Linked DNA regions of Homo sapiens: regions 2 and 3 are each linked to region 1. The links are contacts of gene promoters, found by promoter capture Hi-C in blood cells and fetal thymus (Javierre and others, 2016). All regions are on one chromosome and are shown on one strand. The core of a region is centred on a gene start or on the middle of the fragment in contact, and the rest is flanking DNA. Distances in the headings are between cores, read along the strand shown. Region 1 holds the start of CST9 (cystatin 9). Region 2 overlaps NAPB (NSF attachment protein beta). Region 3 holds the start of GZF1 (GDNF inducible zinc finger protein 1).

Evidence for each region. The method cuts DNA at HindIII sites, captures the fragments that hold promoters and counts their contacts. A CHiCAGO score of 5 or more calls a contact.
Region 2: a fragment that was not itself captured here is called in contact with the fragment with the promoter of CST9 in region 1 in 2 of 17 cell types (M0 macrophages and fetal thymus); the score reaches 5.5 in M0 macrophages.
Region 3: the fragment with the promoter of GZF1 here is called in contact with the fragment with the promoter of CST9 in region 1 in 16 of 17 cell types (M1 macrophages, M2 macrophages, fetal thymus and 13 more); the score reaches 30.2 in M1 macrophages.

The regions. Positions count from the first base shown.
Region 1 is chr20:23,604,295-23,607,584 of GRCh38, reverse strand. It overlaps CST9 (cystatin 9), which reads left to right and starts at 1,668. Exons shown (of 2, transcript NM_001008693.3): 1 at 1,668-1,975. The coding sequence starts at 1,721. The HindIII fragment of the contact is 2,472 bases long and covers 693-3,164 here.
Region 2 is chr20:23,407,077-23,409,975 of GRCh38, reverse strand. The region is part of intron 1 of NAPB (NSF attachment protein beta); the gene reads left to right. Among named protein-coding and RNA genes, the nearest start is that of NAPB, 13 kb to the left of the region's middle. RefSeq lists enhancers at 1,569-1,628, 1,769-1,828. The HindIII fragment of the contact is 1,648 bases long and covers 614-2,261 here.
Region 3 is chr20:23,360,777-23,363,746 of GRCh38, reverse strand. It overlaps GZF1 (GDNF inducible zinc finger protein 1), which reads right to left and starts at 1,565. Exons shown (of 6, transcript NM_022482.5): 1 at 1,510-1,565. RefSeq lists enhancers at 1-25, 1,840-2,099 and silencers at 1,280-1,769, 2,190-2,279. The HindIII fragment of the contact is 6,657 bases long and covers 1-2,287 here.

The DNA of each region.
Region 1 (3,290 bases), core at 419-2,918:
TCTCAGGACACTCGCAACCTATTCCAGGCATCAGGATTCTAGTTCTCACAGCACCTTATGGCCTGCTCATCCCAAAACCCACAAAGGCATTTCCGCCCTCACTGACACCCCCTTCCTACCCCTACGTGCACCATCACTCTCCAGCTAAGAAACCACATTAGTTACGCTTCAGCTGCAGTTCCAGTGAACTCAACGCCATCAGAGAAAGGATACAGACTCCTTGGGTGATGTTTTTGGCACATCTGGCTGCTTTCCTGGAATTGTCACATTGAGTTGCTTTTTCTTTGCAAACAGGGTCTAGAAACAAACTCTTATTCTTTATCACCAGGCATGCTGTCTAAGCCTGTCCCCCATCCTGTGTGCCCCACAAAAGCCATTCTCATCCCCTGACCTCCATGCCCCTCAAGCTGAGTTACTTCTCATATGTGGTTTGGTCTGTATGCACTTCCCAGGAAGTATTCTGAACCTGCACCACTCAAAGTATGGTTCTGAGACCGGGAACACAACCATCCTCTGGAAGCTGGTGAGAAATGTAGTTTCCCTGGCCCTGCTCACAGCTACTGGGTCAGAATCTTTGGGTGGGGAAACTAGGAACTTGCTTTTTAACGTGACATCAGGGGATGCTGGTTGCTTCTGAAGTTTACAAGGAGCTACGGATAAACATCAAAGGCATATTTCACAGGGACAAAGCTTAAGTCTGGTCTGTGAAGAGTGCATTATTCAGTCTTTTGAGAGCCCCATTTGCGGTTGGAGTTGGAGGCTATGTGGGTCTTGGTCGAGAACTCAGAATCTCCACCCACAAACTGTGCCGCAGAGTGCTGTGCCGGCTGTGGCCACAGGAGGGAACCCGTGACAACCTAATGGGTGCACTTCAGCCATCCCTGAGGGCATCTTCGTCTTTCTGGTTCTCCACTGCTCCAATTGCAAGCGGCCACCCGTCCTGGAAACACCTTTGAGGAATAGGGGCAGCCATAACTAGCCAGGCCCCTAGTACCAGCACTTGGCAGCGCGTCCCTGGGCTGGGAAGCTGCATTTAGGGAGGTGCAGAGAACAGGGTTGGGGGCTCCTGCTCTTGATTTCCTCAACCTCTGCCCACGACCCCCAGGCTGGTGCCCCCCTCCCGAGACCCTCGGGGGAGCAGACACCTGCAGGACATCCCGCCAATCCTCCCGGGCTCCCCGCCTCTCTCTCAAGAGGCCCAGTGCTTTCTCGGGGCGCTGTACCTGCTCACCCATGATACTAGCATCCACTGTCATCCCTTTCCATCCTTTTGTCTCTGCCTTTCCACCTAACCTCCCCCTCCCAGCCCACCCCCACTGCTGAGTCCAGGGCTCACCTTCCACTCATACCTCTCACACTTGTGTTCCTGTGCCGGGCTCTGACTCTGGGGCGCCCAGTAGAGGTCTCCTTTAGCCTGCGGAGGTGCTGGGGCAGCTGGGGCTGGGCCTCATGTTCAGGGCACTATCTCTCCCATTGCTAGTCTTTTCCAACCCACCTGCCTGGGTGCTGTTCCTCTCCCCTAAACAGGAGATGATTTAAACGCCTTTGGAAGAAGGGAGGCCATGTGTGGGAGAGACAGGGTGTAACTGCAGAGGTGAGGCCTGGAGGGAGGAGTTTCTGCCCCAGCAGGTGAATTTAAAGGCCAGACCTGAGCCCTGGAAGGCTCCAGTGGACGCCAGGGATCTGAAGGGCAAAGGCAAGGGCTGCTGGAGCCTGCATCATGTCGAGTCCGCAGAGGAGGAAGGCTATGCCCTGGGCACTGTCACTGCTTCTCATGGGCTTCCAGCTCCTGGTGACTTATGCCTGGTGTTCTGAAGAGGAAATGGGTGGTAATAATAAAATAGTCCAGGATCCTATGTTCCTCGCCACAGTGGAGTTTGCCTTGAACACTTTCAACGTGCAGAGCAAGGAGGAGCATGCCTACAGGCTGTTGCGCGTCCTGAGTTCATGGAGGGAGGATAGCATGGACAGAAAGGTTGGTGACCACATCCTCTTCTGGCCTGTCCTTCTCCATCTGCCCCTAAGTGAGGGACCAAGATGTCTAGTCTAGGAGACTTGGTTCACCATCAGCAGTCCATAGTCAGGTAGTCCACAACCAATTACGGTAGTTTTAGTTTTGGAAAACATTGAACTTAAAATTTTTTTTAAATTAGGTAAATGTCTATTCACATGCAAAATATATTTTTCAATCTTCATGATTTTTAAGACATTGTATAACTGAAGAGTGACTTCAAAATAAGGACTTCTAAGGAGATGAAGCTGACAAGAAGAGAAAATAACCAAAGAGACTGATAAACATTTCCAGGTCATAAAATGAAAATGGAAAAGCAAGGACACACAGAGGGAGAGAGAGAGAGAGACAGAGAGAGACAGACAGACAGAGAGAGAGAGACAGAGAGAGAGAGAGACAGGCAGACAGAGAGAGAACAGTGAGAATTCGAGGGCAATAAAGAACACCATCAGCCCTGAGAGGCCACCGTGAAAGGTTAGTTCTCTGATCTCCACCTTCTCTGGGCTCCTTGCTCTGTCTGCACTTAATGAACTGAAGGCCAATTTACACTCTTCCTCAATGGACCTTTATCCTAAAATGCTTGCCTTTTTGATGAAATCATTAAATGTGGTCAGGAATGCACAGTTCATCTGGGCTTCAGGCATGAACAATTAAAATGCCCTCCTAGTGGAGAACTTCTGGTTTAGAGAGAGAAGGAGCATTGCTCTTCCTTTCTCAGCACCAAGAGCCTGAAAGAAAGGCAGAGGGACTCTAGTACCGCACAGAGCTTAAGCTCTGGAAAGACTCTGTGCAAGGCTCTGGCTGGTTCTCTGCCTCCTGGGGTGGATTCCTCACTGCCATCCTCAGGATTCCAATGCTGGTACAGAGGAATTTTCCTCCTTGCTCATTTGCTGCCTCCTCTCAGGAGAATTAAAAGCCTGATGCAACCCTCAGAGGGGCATCTGGTCCAGTAATGGTGGCTGCTAATATTCATGCTGGAACCTTGGAAGTCTCAGAGATTGAGATTGGCCAGGCCTCATGCTTCTGCTTTCCCAGTGCTTTGCTTGATTCTCCAAGACCTCAGTGTAAGCCTCCATTCTTAATACCGTTAGAATAAAATCTAAGCTCCTTACTATGGTCTATAAGTCCTAAATGACAGTAAGTCCTAAAAGCTTTCCACATGGCTTCCTGGATATGGCAATCCCAGCATCAGTTTGGGGGCTGGGAAGAATAGATGGGTGAGAGGGAGGCTATGGAGTGGAATTAAATAGAATGGAGTGGGAAGGAGGGCAAGGAGAAC
Region 2 (2,899 bases), core at 188-2,687, 200 kb after region 1:
TTGCCCACCCTGGTAGGGCACTTCCTTGCTGAGAGTTCTTCCCTGGACAATGATTGCCAGGTTAAACTCCCCTCTCCTGTCGACAGACGCCCCTCTGACTGGCAGCAGAGGCAGTGTTGCTAGCTCTGGTAGTTTTGGATTTTTTATTTCCTAAATTATATTTAATGGAGGCTTGCTGAATACTGCCTCCTTTTGCTGTAGGCACGGATTATGGGTGGTTGTGTATGCTTTTTGTTGATCTATAAGGTTTTTGGAGGATGTGTGGATATATTTATCTAAGCAGCCACCATGATTTTTTGGGAATCACATGTCTCATCAGTATTTTCTGAAGACTGAAATTCAGCTTAAATTTTTATAAAGACTGAAATTCAATTTAAAAACTGCTCTTGGTAAATCAGGTTGTATGTAACAGTCATTTCTGAATTAATCTAGCAGTTACCATTATCTTTCTTAAGTATTTAAATATGTTTGTTTTGTTTTATAAATAGGTCCAGTGTATACCTATTTCTTCTCTATAAAGATGACTACTCCCCATATAAAGTTGAGGCATTAGAAAACTATTGTCAAAATAAAGTCTAACTAGTTTTCTTTGTTATACTTGTTCTCATAAGCTTTATTTCAGGAAATTGTGCTTAAACACAAATACTTTGGTCACAGGCCTTAAATGTCTCTGATTATTTTCTCTGTTTGAGAATCTATGATTTTTGTCCTTAATTAAGCAGAAGTAAACTGAAAAGTTCTTAGAAAATTGATTCCAAAAGCTCAAGGCCACTGAGACAGCGCTCCCCTTACTGGTACAGTGCTAGCTGGCTTGGTGGAATTTTTCTTTCTCTCCAAGGCCAAGACAGGCCTGGCTGCTCCAGGGAACTGGAGGCTGGTAAATAAATGATACTGTTCATTTGTAGGTGGTCTGACTCAAGCCCATGCCCTGGGCCTTTCCACCATACCTTGGGCTTCTGCATTACCGATTTATAAAAGAACAGTGAAACATTTAAATGCTGCCTTTTGCTGTAAGAATTCAAATTAGCATTCTGGAGAGTATCTCCCTCCTACCTTTTTAAAAAAATAGTTTTTAATTGACACATTGTATTGCATATATTGATGGGGTACAGTTTGATTTTTTGATATACGTCTGTGTTGTATAATGATCAAATCAGGATAGTTAGCATACTCATCACCTCATACATTTATCATTTCTTTGTGTTGAGAACATGTAAAAATATCTCTTCCAGTTGTTTTGTGTCCTTCTGGGGCCTCTGCATCTCCTCCACGGAAGAAATCTCTACTTTTGCATCACATAAAAGATTTGTACTGTTTTAAAATATATTAAGCACTGAAATAAAGTAATCTTGGAAGGGTTAAGTTTACCTAGGAAAGCCCCAAGTTTTTAGAATCTGTGGAGTTTCCAGAAGTGAAGCATCAGGTGGAAATAAATTGTTTATAGAGCCTATAATATCACAGAGTAGTTGTGTATGGCAGAGGCACGTTCAGACAGATTTTGAATTTTCCTCTCTTCTGGATTCTTTCTACATTTGCTTATTATTTTGAGGCATACATGGGAAACCTTAAAAAATGAATGTGGACAGTTTGTTCCATCCAGACACTAAGCATCAGCCTTGTTATTGTGGCCTGTGTGCTAGGCCCTGTGCTGCTTCCTCTTCCCCAGAGCATCAGTCTAGTGGCTAAGGAGATACTGCTGGTAAATAATGAGAAGAAGGAGGTACCATGCTTTGTGGGGATCCCCCCAGGCTCCCCACACTGGGCAAGTCCCTTTTCAGTCTTTTGGGGTGGCTTGACACACCCCTTCATGGCATCCTGATGTTAGAGCTGAATTTTGCCTCTGGTTCTACATGCTTATCTTCATAGTACTGTCACTGTCACTTTTTGTGGTATTTCTACTCTAATATCTTGTGATTTTAGAGGCAACTTTATTTCTATCTCAGGAGTTGTCAGCCTTTTTCTTTGAGGTACATCTCATGATGTGTGTGTCATTAGTTCTCACAATTCTACGATGTCTCCTTCCTCCCACCCACAGTTTTAAAATAGTACGGACTATAGTTGTCATAGTTTTACAATGCTCTGCAATAGTTATTATTCAGGATGGGGGAAATCAAGATTTTAGATTATTTGAAGATGAATTGGTTTTCACAGCTCTGCTGTTCACTGGCTCCTGGTGGGACATTTGTGGCTTTGACAATGTTTCCTCAGGGGAACATGGGGAATTGATAGGCTTTTTCTCAGACCCTTCTGGCCGTGAAGCTTGATATTCTTTCCTCAGTGTCGTGACCTCCTTGTGGGCAAGAAGTTTATTTCCTTAGTGTTTTCTGGCACATATGGATCTCAGTAAATATTTCCTGAATAAGTACGGTCAAGAAGAAGAGAGTCTGCCTTGCCTCTGGAATGCAAGGGTGGTTCACCTGGGCCAGCCAGGTGGCAGTGGTTTTTGTGCTAGCTGGGCAGTGTTTTCTTTCACGGTGGGGAAAATGTTTTCTTCTTCCAAGTCAGATTCCTGTAATACAAAAAAATAGTTAATTTAGCTCAGTTTAGCTTCTTAATGTCAATTGAGTGCTAAGTGTTTAACTTATGTTGCTGCGTAATATGGATTCCCCACAGAATATTTTTTCCAAGGATCTTCTGCCTCACTGTGAGACCTCTGGATAACAGTTGTTACTTTGAATGCAAATTCTGAATACTTGTCCATAAAATTTACAAAAAATTAACTTTCACATAAAACAAAATAAGCATCCGGTGTAATTTCAAAAGTACCTTTTTTCAGGAAGTTTTAAAGTTATGGTCAGTTTATGACAAATGGGTTTTTAAAGTGAGGCTACCTCTGGCAATTCTGTTTCAGGAGACATGAGGATCTCATGGTTTAGCAAAGTTCAAAGGTCACTGAACT
Region 3 (2,970 bases), core at 316-2,815, 240 kb after region 1:
TACTTTGAGCAAGCAACTTCTCTGAACCCATTTCCTCCTCTGAAGAAGGCTGACCGGCTGTTACCAGGGTTCCATGAGCCTGAAACTTGTTGGCTAGTTTATTGGTTTCCCACACATAGGCCAAGGTGCTACAGTGATCCCCATTTCATAGATGAGGACCTATCAAGGTAACAGTCAATGGCTGGTTGGGACATGAGCCAGGGCCTGGTGCCCGGATTCAACTCAGACTACTCAACACACTCTTCCCCTCAGCCTTGCCAAAGGCAAAGGGCTATCTTTAGCCCCTAAATCTTTCCACTGCAGCGGGCATGCAAATTTCACCAACCCCACCTAAGGCCTCCAGATACCGTCACCCCATCGTCATTTCTGCTGCTTTGCCACAAACTCCCTGAATGTGTTTTCTCCCTGCCCTTCAGCTCCTGAATCTACCTTCCTCTTTGATTCCTGTTTCCATCCATCCAAAGCACATGCCTTCCTTCTAGCCTCCTTCGGCCAGACCACAGATGTCACCTCGGATTCAACGTGTCTAGAAAAAAAGTTGTCATCATCTTCCCTGATAAACTAGTCCCACCCCTCTCCCCTTCTCCAGTCTCATCAATGAGACCGCTCCCCACAACTAGCAGTCCCTCAAACATGGAAAAGACTGCCCTCTGGGAGTTCCGCTGTAAACAGGTACCTATGAGGCTTGATCAATGTCGCCTGAAGGAGACGCCCCAGTAAAACTGTGAGAACACTGACAAAGCCTAAGGAAGGGATCTATAAGAGTGGGGCTCTTATAGAGCCACTGGGGTTTCAGTGGTCCCAGCCCCAGCCTGGGGAAACAAGACTGCAGAGGGCTCTCTCAGCCTGATGCCCTGACTTCCCCAGACCTCTGCCAACAGGGCCCTCGAGGAGACCTGATTTCTCAATCAACAAAGTGGGTTCTGAGCGCGATTTCCTATGTTGCTTGGCTACTGGAGTGCAGGCACTGGAGGTGGCGACAGGGCAGTCTGCGGCCGGTGACAGCTGCGTATCCGCCGAATCTCATTGGCATTCCGGCCGCCTCCCAGTGCGCCCGGCATCTGCACCAACGTCGGCGGCCCCTGAATCCCCGAGGCTCACGGGGCCAGAGCCCTTCCAGGAGACGCTGCTACCCGCAGCCCAGTCCACGGCCACAAGGGCCGGGGTTTCCAGTGGGGCTTAAATCCGCCGCTGTCCTCGCCGCCCTCACGGCACCTCCCACCCTTCCCGCGCCACTTGGCCGCCCCAGCGCCCGGACGCCGCTCGGCCACTCCAAAGACGACCCAGAGAACAAACTACTGCAGCCACAGAGAAGCCCCTCCTCGGCCCGACGCGCCGCCTCCCGACGCGGGCATCCGGGGCCGCGTGGATCAGGCCCTCGGGCCGCCCCCTGCCCCCGCTCCCGCATCCCCGAGACGCGCAGGTCCACAGAGCAGCCGGGGCGCGCGGACAAAGAGGCGGCGGCGGGCGGCGAGGGGCCGGAGCCAGGCCTACGGGCCGCGCACTCACCTCCCAGCCGGCGCCCCCGCTGCAGCCGCTGTCCGCTGGACCAGGCCGGTAGGAACGGCCGGCCCGGCTGGGCGTGGCGTAGCACCCTGCGCGGGCACCGCCGATTGGTCGCTGCAGGCCCCTCCCCTCCCGCGGCCGGCCCCGCCCCTGGCGGGGCTGAGGAAGGGGCTGAGCCACACGTCGGGCGGCGGAGCGGTTCGGGCAGTTACCTGATCTGGCCGCGCGACTGACTGGCGACGCCGGATTGCGTCACCCGCCGCATTGCGTCACCCGCCGCGAGCCAAGGCCTGCGCCTGCGCAGGAGACAGCGACGTCTGCGCTGCGGCACGCCACAGGGGGGCGGGGCCAGTCGCGAAAAGTCACGTGAGCGTCAGATTCGCGTGGTCACTTTCGCGTCCATTCCGGGCTTCTGGCCGCAAGGCGCCAGCGCTTCCGGGCCCCAGCAGCCTGCGGTCAGGGCCTGCAGCTGGCTTCCCACTAAGAGCTGCTCACGTCCCCGAGGCCGAGCGCACCCTTAGGGCACGGTGGCCACGCGAGGGACCTCGCGGAAAGCCGGGCTTGGAGCTGGTACTCACCTTGGCTACTAGGGGCGCAGATGCCTCCACGGGCGCTGGAGAACTGGCGCCAGGCGGGGCTCGGCGCGGCGCTCTCCTCTGGGGCGCTTCTTCCGCGGTGCCCCCGCCCTGCTGGGGGGCTCGGCGCGCCAGGAGCCGGGACCGCACCCTGCCGTCTTTACTGCAGGGCTTTATTTCCAGGAGTTCCCATTCGGGCGAAAGCTTTGTTCACTACAGAACTTCCCCAGAGACCCATCCACTCTTCGGGGAAAGCACAATTGATTCCCTAAGATTCGCTGACTCCTCGAAATCTTGCTGTTTCCACCAATTCTTGCTCAATACTAACTAAAGCCCGCTTTGAAACACCTTCCTTGAGTCAGACTTCCAGTTCTCAATAAACTGACCTTGCCTTTTGCTCCCAGCCATTGGTAAAGCTTTGCCAGGTCATGCTGTCCCTTACTGTGGCCAGCAGTTAACTCAGCCTTGTCTTACCGACACGTTGAGTTTGTAATGTTTGGGGACTGTCAGGACAAATACAAATTTAAAATAAGGTTTACTACTTCCTGTTGAAAATATGAGATTTCCCTCCCTTTTTCTTCGAACATTTACTTTTAGAAAATTGGTAATTAGTGTAAGTACTTTTTCCTCTCTTTGAAATATATAAATCCTTTTGAAGACTAGTTAGGCCTTTTTGTGCGCTTTATAACCTAGATATGTCTTTTTCTAGGACCTAGGAGCCATCTCTTTAAGTATCAAGGGAGTTAATGCCCCTGTCTCCCAGTTTTAATGGGGGAGTAGGAGCCTAACTTCAGTGGGCCCTTTGCTCCAACTTACAAAATTATCTCATATCATAAAGATACAAGTTTCTTTTTCCTCTAGATAAAGCCAATTGGCTAACACAGAGGAT